Linked DNA regions of Homo sapiens: regions 1 and 3 are each linked to region 2. Evidence: promoter capture Hi-C in 16 types of primary human blood cells and fetal thymus (Javierre and others, 2016). All regions are on one chromosome and are shown on one strand. Each heading gives the region's core, a stretch centred on a gene start or on the middle of the fragment in contact. The rest is flanking DNA. Distances are from core to core; before and after follow the strand shown.

Region 1 (3,802 bases), core at 557-3,056, 340 kb after region 2:
GGCTAGGAAGTTGAAATTGGGGATGGGGGATAAAGGGCATTTGGTATTAGCAGAGAGGTGGGATACTTTAGGGACTGTGAATTGTTAGTTCAGTCACAATCAAATAGCCCTTTGAATTTAGTTCTGAAATTGGGGTCTGTCCTTGGGGTTATGCTTTTTGTGTCATGTTAAGAAAAATCAGTGCTTGAGTGAGATATGTATTTTGCTAGAGACTGTTAAAATATATGAATGTTATTCTGAAGGGAATAGGTGAACTAATTGCTACCCCTTTACATACTTGCTCATAGCATTAAGTAGCTAGTAAAAAACCAGAATCCAGAAGACATTGGATTAAAGGTTGTCTATAAATAAGATATGGAAAACGAAAGTAATTTTGTATGTAATGTTAGCTTTGTATAGGAGTTTCTTTCTTTGTTTTTTTTTTTTTTTTTTTTTTTTGAGATGGAGTCTCACTCTGTTGCCCAGGCTGGAGTGCAGTGGCGCAATCTCAGCTCACTGCAACCTCTACCTCCCAGGTACTAGTGATTCTCCTGCCTCAGCCTCCCGAGTAGCTGGGACTACAGGTGCCCACCACCATGCCCAGCTATTTTTATATTTTTGTGTTTTTAATAGAGATGAGGTTTCACTATGTTGGCCAGGCTGGTCTCGAACTCCTGACCTCAGGTAATCTGCCCACCTTGGCCTCCCGAAGTGCTGGGATTACAGGTGTCAGTCACTGTGCCCGGGCAGGAGTTTCTTAAATCTTGAAAAGCTACTGTTGTTAGAAGCAAATGAGGCTAAAAGACAAAGAAAATAAATCTCTTAATGTAGGTTTTGTAGATTCTTTGGATAATTTTTAAGTGTATCCTCTGTTGACTTCAGGCATTTACTTCAAATAATCTTATCTTAGTTTTAATGGGACTGATTGTAGAACATCAAAACAGAAAAGCTTTTGCATGTTTTTGAAGATCTATTATCCTTTCATATCAGATTGCTTTTTCATATAGCATTCATAACTGGATTTTAGGTTATATAATTTTAGGGAGAGTTTAAGAGTGAACATGTGTACACACACAGACACACACACAATCTTCGTCGTGTCCCTTTTCTTTTTTCTTTGGGTTTGACATTTCTTCTCATCTGTTTTATTGCCTCTTTTTTTTAATGTGTCCAAATAGAGATTTGTACTATTCTTAGGTTTCTGTTATATGTAGCACAATGGAAAGCACACTCAGAGAAGCATTGCCATTTCTCTGGTGGTCGCATAACCTAACTATCTGTCCCCAATTTAGATAACAACTGTGAACTACCTCAGTTCTGATTTCAGTGTCCTGACATGCTTTTAAAGAAAATTTGGAGTCTGGGCACAGTGGCTCACACCTGTAATCCCAACACTTCGGGAGGCCAAGGTGGGAGGATCACTTGATCCCAGGAGTTTCAGACCAGCCTGGGCAATAAAGTGAGACCTCCATCTCTCCTACAAAAAAATTAAACAATTAGCCAGGCCTGGAGGTGCACCCAGCTACTTGGGGGGCTCAGGTAAGAGGATTGCCTTAGCCCAGGATTTGAGGCTACAGTGAGCAATGATAGTGTCACTGCATGCCAGCCTGTTCGACAGAGAAAGACCCTGCCTTTAAAAAAAAAAATGTGATTTGTTTTGTTTGAGCAGTTCATTTTTGAGAGATAAACCTAGGGATTGTAAGTCATCATGCACCTAATGATACTTTCATAGAAAAGCTGCTAAATGTGTGCTGATATTGTGGCCTAGGTCTAGTTTTGATAACTTCACTGTGTTTACCTTATCTCTCTTCCTTCACTAATGAAGATAACATTGTTTCATTCTTATGAGATTCCTGTGTATGTGTGTGTATGTTTTATTTCTGTATATATTTTGGACTTAGTAAAATTGCATGGGTAGTTGTGGCTGAAAGGGAGTGAAACTGAAGCAGTCTTCTTAGATCACTGCAACATTTGGGTCTAATGTAGGTATTTTAGGATATTAAAAACATTAATTTTCTTCCTTAATATGAATGTATTCTAAGCCAAGTAATATGTTATCACCAATTTAGCCTTTTTACATATGAGATGAATGAAATACTGGCATTTGAGGTTTCTTTTTGTTTGTGACAGAGGAGGAAGTAAGATTATAAATTTGCCAACAATTGGACTAAATGAAGTTGGAAGTAAAGTGAGAAAACTTTCCATTTTTGGGGGGGGTTGGGTAAGTTATATAATTACTTTCATGAAAGGAATTTGTTTAGATTCTACTGAAAATGGCAAAGGAGGAAATTTCAAAACAGGATATGTATGTGGAAATACTAAGAATTGTATTCATATTTTTCTTCGAAGTCAGAAGACTGAAGGGCATTGAATGAGAAATCTGGGAGGCAGGAGTTCAGTTCTACTTGTTCTGTGACGGGCACTATTAAACCTAAAAAGAGTGGACACTTAATAGCTTCTCAGAAAATGTACAAAAAGAAAATCTGTTTGCCTTGATTATAGCCAATTAGCAAGTGAAGTGTTTGCACTTTAAAAAAAGTCCTTAGTGTTATTATGGCATTAAAATAAAATTTTTATATTTTCCATTTTAATGTTAAGAATATGACAGTTAAAAATAGTTTTGAGAAGAATTTCTGTAATTCACAGGTTAACATGATCATATGTTCAGATTTTTCTTTTTAAGACCTTATATACCTCACAGGATGTTAAGCTTTTAAAAAAATTCCTGTAGAACATTGAAGAACTGAGTAGTCCTTTGTCATCTACATAGCAGGCAGTCAAATATTTGTTTCTTTGATCTGAAAACTAAATTTTGCTGTAGTTAAGCTGTATTAGCAGAATGCCCAAAGGCTAGTCTAACTCCATATCATAATCTAAACAGGAACATTTACTAGAAGCAGTTAGGACTTTTAGTTCACAATACAAGTAATACAGCTTTTTCTAAATTCTACCATTAGTACTTGCAGGTACCTGCTAAATCAGGAGTTGACACACTAAAGCCATTCAAGCCAAATATAGCCAGCTGCTTATTTTGTAAATAAAATTTTATTGGAACACAGTCATGCCTATTCGTTATGTATTGTGTATGGTTTCAGTGGCAGTGTTAAATAGTTGTGACAGAGATCCTGTGGCCTTCACAGCTAAAACATTTACTATCACATTGCCAACCCCAGTGCTAAATGATGGCATGAAAAAAATGTATATAAACCTTTGTTCTATTTTATTTTATTTTAATTATTATTATACTTTAAGTTTTAGGGTACATGTGCACAATGTGCAGGTTAGTTACATATGTATACATGTGCCATGCTGGTGTGCTGCACCCATTAACGCGTCATTTAGTATTAGGTATATCTCCTAATGCTATCCCTCCCCCCTCCCCCCATCCCACAACAGTCCCCAGAGTGTGATGTTCCCCTTCCTGTGTTCTATTTTAAATAGTGTTGAAAGACTAGAACACTTTTAAAAAAATCAAACTATTGCTCTTACTGAAAGGAAGCAGAGCACATATTTTGTCCACTTTCGGAATCCTTAGGGGAGCAATTTGTTCCCTTGAGTATGAAGCAGAAGTTACTAAACAAACTTGACTTTAACTGCAGTTACATTATAACCTTAAAGAGCTGGCCAGAAGTTTCAATGGTTGAATAAAGGTGAAAAACTAGTGTCTTTACAGAAGTTAGTGGTTAAATTATTCAAGACACTCAAAACAGACATTTAAAACCATTTCTCTACATATTTTATTTGGTTTACAGTGTGTAGCAACTTATTTCACTTGTTTTATGGTATAAAAGTCATTCAAATTTCCTAAAGCTTGAATGAGGCC
Region 2 (3,805 bases), core at 212-2,711:
TGAAGAACTCCCCATGCACGTCTGTCATTCTCAATTGGCTTCCACAAGTCTCAAACTTACTAGGTAGAAAGTAACTAAAGTCATAAAGCACTTGGTGGAAATGCAGGAAATGTCAAATATTAAACAATAATTACTACAGGCTTAGGCAATCAGATGGTAGTTTTGCATACAAACAAAAACAGGAATCTGAGATGTTAAATAATTTGTGTTTTTTTTTTTTTTTTTTTGAGACAGTGTCTTGCTCTGTCACCCAGGCTGCAGTGCAGTGGCATGAATTTGGCTCCCTGCAGCCTGGATCTCAATCTCTCGGCCTCAAGCGATTCTCCTACCTAAACCTCCTGAGTAGCTGGGACTACAGGCAAGGACCACTACGCCTAGCTAATTTTTGTATTTTTTGTAGAGACGAGGTTCCCTCTTATTGCTCAGGCTGGTCTCGAATTCCTGGGTTTAAGTGAACCGCCCGCCTCGGCCTCCCAGAGTGTGAGGACCCGCCTGGCCTAAAATAATGTTATCACTTAATTCTTTTCATAAACTTTATTGACAACGATTGGTGTGTTTTTTTAAAAAACCTTTTTAAATTTTTGGTAAGGTATTACCTGAGAACAGATTAAATGCATAGTTGAATATAAAAGATCTATTTTATAGACTGGTTTATGAGTGTGAACACACAAAAGGTTAAAAGGTCAACCTTACAGCAGTCTATAAATAGATCTCTCATATTCTCTCAGTATATCTGAGAATATTGAAAAAGTGCATTTCAAAATCACTGGCTAGGGTTTAGTGATAGTTAGGTAGACCTCGGTTCCCTTTCCTATTGGGCCCTGGATTTCCCATCCCTATTTTCTTCCTCAGGTGTATTAATACTGGCAGGGCCTGGGAGACTGACGCTAGGGAAGAGGTGTGTAATGTAAGGATACTTCAGATTCTTTCCTGATCCTAGGATTCAGCTAAACCTCCACATAGCCCCTGTCCTCAAAAATGAGTAAATACATAAATTTAAAAATGAAAGGAAAAAAAGAGAAATCCGTTCCCACCACCCACCTTCAGGGCTAAAACAGAAAAATCAATGAGCTGCGCTTCACAACCATACCAAAACCAAACAAATACCAACTCAAACCCTCCTTCACATCCTCCCACATCTTCCCAGTGCTTCGCTATCTCACAGGACCCAGCTGGCCCCTGGCTTCGCCCCACCCACTGCAGCTGGCGTCTTTTAGGCGCATGGTTCTTTTCCTCTCCGGCGAGGGGCGGTCTCGGGGCGGACCCGAACTACAATTCCCAGCATCCTGCGCGGCGCGGGGAAGGAAGCCCGGGAGTGAGAGAAAGCGGCTCCGGGGGCATAGCGGGCCAGTAAGGGCCGCTCCTCCTTTGAAGAGGTTTTGCGTCTCTTTCCGCCGGTGGCGTCGGCGCTCACGCAGGGGCGGGTCCCGGTAGCGCCAGGCGGTGCAGGGCGGGAAGGGGATTCGTGGCGACGGCGGCGGCAGGGACAGCAGGAGCAGTGGTGCTGTCAGCGCGGCCGTCGGAGACATGGGAGACCCGGGGTCGGAGGTGAGTAGTCGAGTGAGGGTCCTGGCGTTCTCAGAGGCGAACCGCGAAGGGTTTGTGTTTTCTGCGGTCTGAGGCCTGGTGCTCCGTCGCAGCCTCGGGGCGATACCTCTTCAGTGTCTTGGGCCGAGCCCAGCTCTGGGGCCTGGTGCGTGTCTGAGCGAGGAACCCGCAGCAACAATGGCCGCCCGGCCCCCCGCACGGGCCCTGGCGTTCGTTGTGGCCGCGGCTGGGCCAGTGGGAGCGACGTTTTAAGGCAGGATTGCCCTTCGGTGTTGAGCTTGCGTTCCTCCTGGAGTAGATAAGGGGAATTGTGAGAGGCTGGTAACTAACGCGTTTTCAGCGTTGGGTCCCTGCAGCTCCGCACACTCTGTGGCAAGAGCCAGAGCTCGAGTTCCGTTCCTAGTCGGGTTTCCGTGAAATTGTGCTCAGTTCGTTTTCCTCAAGAGCTCTCTGTCTTTAATTGTTCCTTTCGGAAACGCTCTCTTCCTACACGAATGTGGCTGAACAGATAAGCATGTTTTGGCTTGTTTTTATAGATAATAGAATCTGTCCCTCCAGCTGGCCCTGAGGCATCTGAGTCAACAACGGATGAAAATGAAGACGACATTCAGTTTGTCAGTGTAAGTAGCAATGATGATTGGGGTTTTCCCAGAGTAAAAGACTATGGTGGGCCATTATGTAATGTTACCTCACCTGGTCATTTAATGTTCATGAGTGTCTAATACATACTAGACACTGGAGCATGGCGCAGGATTGGGAAATTTACCAAAAGAGCTATCTGAGCCACCCCCGTAGCCATCACAAAGAGCACGTCCTAAAGAACGTGCTGTACACTTAATCTCGCCCCCTGCCTTTCATTTAAACTTAAGATAAAAACGCTGGTGTCTAAAACGCTGTTTTGAAATGGAGCAAGAGTAACTTCTAAAGGCGACACGGAGGAAGGAGCTGCTAATGATGAGCAAGGACGTAGAAAACAGGAAGGGTTGTGAGAGCCCAGAATCTTAGCGTTATGGTGCTTCTAACATGAAGGCAAATAGCTTGAAGATTTCTCTAACCTCTGAGATCATCATGTTACGGCATAGTACAGTTGATGCTCATAATGAAGAATCCTACATCACTGGGAACATGCTCTATTTTTCTGAGTTTGTTCCCTTTGAGACAGTAGTTTTCAAGCCTTAGTAAGTATAAACAGGCAGATTCCTGGGCCCCACTGCAGACCTACCGAATCAGAATTTCCAGGCGGGGGCCTAGGAATCTTCATTTTCAGACAAGTGCAGGGACATAAGGATTTCTGAGCACACTTTGTACAGCATGGGTTTCCAAAGCAGAAGAGAGTGTTTTATGATGTATTTTGGGGTGATTTTCTTCCATAATTATTGGAGTTTTAGAAAGGCTTTGCGTAAAGTGGTATCTCAGCTCGCCAGGCAGAAAACGGTTCTGTCCCCAACTCGTCTTTTGGAATGCCGTAGTTAGTTGCAGTTTGGTATTCAAGCTGTAGAATTTTTCGTTGAGTGTCAGATGTGCATTTATGGTGGATGCTGGGAAACCTTGTAAAATTGGTTATTAAACAGTTTCTTTCCCAGCATTAGGGCCATTTTGGTAATTCATTTTTGTATGGTATTTTAATAGATTTGTTTAGGAGTCCTTCACAAGATTGTTTTATTGAATTTCTTTCCCTTTACCAGTGTATGTTGTACTCTCTCCTTTTCATTTTGATCTTCTACGGATTTGGAGTAGAGGATGGGGGTGAATTGTATCCTGTCCTTTCCTTCACCATGCGCTGAAGTATGTTTAATAACAGGTTTCCATGGCTCTTGAGGACAGATATTTCAGGTTCTTCCTGAATCTTGGTATATTTGTGAAGAGAATTTTTTTCTTATGGTGTTTAGTAGAAATAATACTAGGAATGACATACTTCTTTATGAACTATGGCCCTTTTTGAGAAACACGAGTAGCATCTCTTAATATTTGAAAAATGTTTTGTGTAATGAATTACAGTGTAGCTTGTGACTAGTTAATGTAGGCTTGAGTTCACCTTTGGTTTAAAGGAGTCTTTAAATTTTATGTTGAATGTAGAGGATCACTTCCGTCTTTGCATCAAGAGTAAAGAATGTACAATCATTGAATATCTGACATGATACAACTTCTTACTCTTGTTCCCAAATAAAGGTTCAGAGGTTTGACAGTTCCACATGGAGAAGTGAATTATATGTTGTAAGTGTAATTACAATACTAGAAGAAGCCTATTAAAAATTTT
Region 3 (3,749 bases), core at 1,138-3,637, 270 kb after region 2:
TTTTGAGACAGTTTCGCTCTTGTTGCCCAGGCTGGAGTGCAGTGGTGCGATCTCGGCTCACTGAAACCTCTGCCTTCTGTATGTTCAAGAGATTCTCCTCCCTCAGCCTCCTGAGTAGCTAGGATTACAGGTGCCTGCCACCACTCCTGGCTAATGTTTGTATTTTTAGTAGAGATGGGGTTTCACCATGTTGGTGAAGCTGGTATCGGATTCCTGACCTCGTGATCCACCCGCCTTGGCCTCCCAAAGTGCTGGGGTTACAGGCATGAGCCACCGCACCCGGCTTCCTCTGTCAGAGCACTTGTACTTGAGGGTTATCACCCGCCTGTCTTGAAATGGGCTCTAAGTCTCCTGAAAGCAAAGGACCCTGAATATGGTGTTTATTACCTAACACAATGTCTAGCCTATAGGAGGTACTTAATGTATGTTGGTTGAACAAAGGAGTAAATAAATGAAGTAGCTACCTACAGTTGTTCCCCAGAAGATACATTACTTAAGCACCCTAGAAACTGTTTGGCCTTTTGAATGTTTATTGTAAAGTTTAAATTCTCAGTTGTTTGTTCTTAGTTTGTGCTAACAGCTTCATAAAATGGGTAGATCAAGCAATAGTGTGCAGTTAGCAAACTGGGTCCACAAACTCAAGATTCAAATCACTTTTGGCTAATTGTGTACTTATGGACATCAGATTGCTCTTGTATTAAAATTTATTAGGCAGACTTTGAGTGGGAAAATAAAAATCTTGATTTGGTAGATGCTGGAGAACAGTAAAAAATAGAAAAATTTGCAGGTTGGTGAGATTTCCCAGATTCAGTGTGTGGTGTATCTCTAAAGTTCAAAATCCTTCAAGAAGGTTGCTGGTGTATGCTGGGTGTCAGAACAGGAGAGATGTTTTTAACACCTAGCACAGCTGCAAACTAGGTGGTCTGGAATTTGCAAGTACATCTTTCAGTTTTATTTCATCTTGAAGCTTTCATGTGGGTTTAACAGTTATTCAATGTAATTGAAGTTAATGTAGCTAAAATTGCATATTATTTTTGAAGTGTTAAGAATGAAAATAATTTATGGTCTTTAAGAATGAATATGCCAATATTTCATATTCTGTATTGGCAGTACAGTAAAAATTAATTATTTTCACTATAAGTATTATATAAATAATAAAGATATTTAGGAGGGAGTATATATGCTAATAGGAAATAAATGTTTTGCCTCCCAGGAGATCATCTTAGCTGGTACAGTGGATTAAAAATGGCCTCAAATTATTTGATATTTTCTCATTGAGAAGTGGGATCTATGTCACCACCCCTTGAATCTCAGTAGCTTTAAAAAATTATGGTTAAATATACATAATCTTTACATTTTAAACTATTTTTAAGTGTACAGTTCTTTGTCATTAAGTGTATTCACATTGTTGTGCAACCATCCCCATTCATCTCCAGAACTTTTTCATCTTCTCCAGCTGAAACTCATTACCCTTTAAATACTAACTCCTCATTCTTCCCCTGCCCACCTCTTGATGTGAGTGGGTTTTGGCAAATAGAGTATGGATGGCAGCAGTGACAGAGTACCAGTGTCTGGGTACAGGCTTTAAGAAACTGGGGGCTTCCACTTTCTGTCTCTGGTACACAGTCTTCAGGAGCTCTGGGATGCCATTAAGAATTCTAAGTAGACTTGATGGAGAATCTGTTCTGAAACCTGGCAGTAACTAGTAATTGCCATGCTGGAGAGGCATGTTGACATTCCCACCTGAGCCCAGCCTTTTAAGCATCCCTGTCACGGTGCCATACATGAGAGCAGAGCCATCTAAGAACCTCCAGATTAATCTGTTCACCAGCTCAGTACCTCTGGTGACTTCATTTGGTGCCACATGGAGTAGAGACATTGCCAGCAGCACCCTTTCTGAATACCTGACCATCAGAATTGAGAGCTGTAATACAATGGCTGTTATTTTAAACTGTTAAGTTTTGGGATAGTTTGTTATACAGTGATAGATAATTAGAACTGGTAGCTAGAGCTTCTGGCTTCTTGAGTTTGAGCTGAAAATAGCAATCAGTGTATCCTAAATACCTCAAAACAACTGTACTATGATTTGGAAAGACTATATAAAATGTAATGAAAGATACTATTAACAATTAAATAATATGGAAAATGAAATTCCAATAATTAGTTGAGTGGAGAAGACAACTCTGAGGAGCCCAGATTACTTAGAAGGGACAGAAATGGGAAAATTGTTGATAAATGCTTTTCACCTTTCAGAAATTTGATTGGTGAATCTGCTTAAAAGTTAGCTGAGAAGTTTGTGGCTTTTTCATTTTGAAGAAGAGATTTGCCAGGAGTCTGAGAATCCTTTAAATTCTTCCAAAGACAGCTTTATTATGTTTAGGACAGTGGAAAGTAATGTAATAAGGTATAAGGTATGAGATAATGAGGTTGATGTTTTTATGTGGTGCTCTTAGCCCCTTAGAGTTTGCCAAAATTTAAAGCAGACCAAGTTTAATGAGTGTACTTCATAGTATAGATTGTGGACAGTCCTTTTTGCTTGCTAAATTCAATTTAGCTCAGATGGTGAATACCAATATGTTCAGAGTACTGTGTAGGTGCTATGGGGGATTTAAAAACACCTTCTTAAGTAGAAAGAGGTATAAATAAATGAATGAAACAATCATAAGTTACTATAGACACCACATTATACAGGCTTCTTAATTTTTGTATGCCATTTCTAAATGGTTGCAGATTTTTCTCCTTTTATTTTCAGCATTTAATGCTTTATATTGGCTCTTGATATATGGAGTTTGGATTATGGAAGGTAAGGGGGAGATTTTAATTCATATGGAAATCTATGGAAATTATTTCTTACTGAAAAACTGAAAATAGATAAAATAAAAAAATACAATTTCGTAAGTCCAGGAAAGCAGGACAGTTGAGGCCTAATAATACCCTTTTGTGTTGGCAGACAGATTTGCTGCTATTATGACACTTTGCTTAAGGAATGGGAGTATCGTGGATGAATACAAACCTATACACAGCTGTTTGTGTTTGCTGCACAGCTTTCTGGATACCTTAAGCTGTATCACTTTTGGATTGTAATGATTTTACTGGAGGCAAGAAACAAAGTGAACAAGATACAGCATCAAAATTCTCTTTTAAGTTTCCCAAGGCTGCTCTTATTTCTCTCTACAAAATAGAAATAATAATTTTGCCCTTTTTTTGATAACACTAGCAGTAGCAAGCAAAGTATAGATAAGAACAAGTGACATATTTTGAGTAAGTGATCAATGTCAGGATCTTTACAGAGAACAATAAGATGGATCTAAAATGAATGAACTGAGTGTTTTCTCTTTTTTTGCAGTTTTGGGGGGCATCGAATGAAAATGGCCACATTTAGGTAGGGTAGGAGAACAGGCTTTGGAAGGAGCGGGTATTTTATTACAGTGTGAATAAAATAAATATTTAGAACATTATAAGAATGATGGCTGACACTGAGAGATTCATGTTAATGTTATAGGTTTCTCAAGGCTGATAGGAGCTCTTATATTGTATTTCTAATGTAGAGGAATAGAAGGAAAGCTATGGATGGGGTGCAGAAGAATGGCCCTTTGGCAGTGTAGGTAGTGCTGCTTCCTGTCACACTCTAGTGTTACAGCACTTATAAACTGGATGTGCCTTCTGAGGATACTATCCTTTCTGAGTGCATCGTGGCCTCTTCCTATATTTGAATCCATGTTTTAAGTGCAGATGAAGCGCTTGGACAC

What was found. Contacts are between HindIII fragments. The CHiCAGO score rates a contact against its expected background, and 5 or more counts as called.
Region 1: a contact is called between a fragment that was not itself captured here and the fragment with the promoter of ZNF451 in region 2, in 1 of 17 cell types (total B cells). The highest score is 5.5, in total B cells.
Region 3: a fragment that was not itself captured here is called in contact with the fragment with the promoter of ZNF451 in region 2 in 4 of 17 cell types (total CD8 T cells, naive CD8 T cells, total CD4 T cells and 1 more); the score reaches 7.4 in total CD8 T cells.

The regions. Positions count from the first base shown.
Region 1 is chr6:57,430,034-57,433,835 of GRCh38, forward strand. All of the region lies in intron 7 of PRIM2 (DNA primase subunit 2), which reads left to right. Among named protein-coding and RNA genes, the nearest start is that of MIR548U, 42 kb to the left of the region's middle. The HindIII fragment of the contact is 1,761 bases long and covers 927-2,687 here.
Region 2 is chr6:57,088,727-57,092,531 of GRCh38, forward strand. It overlaps ZNF451 (zinc finger protein 451), which reads left to right and starts at 1,462. Exons shown (of 15, transcript NM_001031623.3): 1 at 1,462-1,548; 2 at 2,085-2,168. The coding sequence starts at 1,528. RefSeq lists enhancers at 1,131-1,280, 1,148-2,030 and a silencer at 1,451-1,520. The HindIII fragment of the contact is 8,135 bases long and covers 1-3,805 here.
Region 3 is chr6:57,357,609-57,361,357 of GRCh38, forward strand. All of the region lies in intron 5 of PRIM2 (DNA primase subunit 2), which reads left to right. Among named protein-coding and RNA genes, the nearest start is that of MIR548U, 31 kb to the right of the region's middle. The HindIII fragment of the contact is 2,844 bases long and covers 966-3,749 here.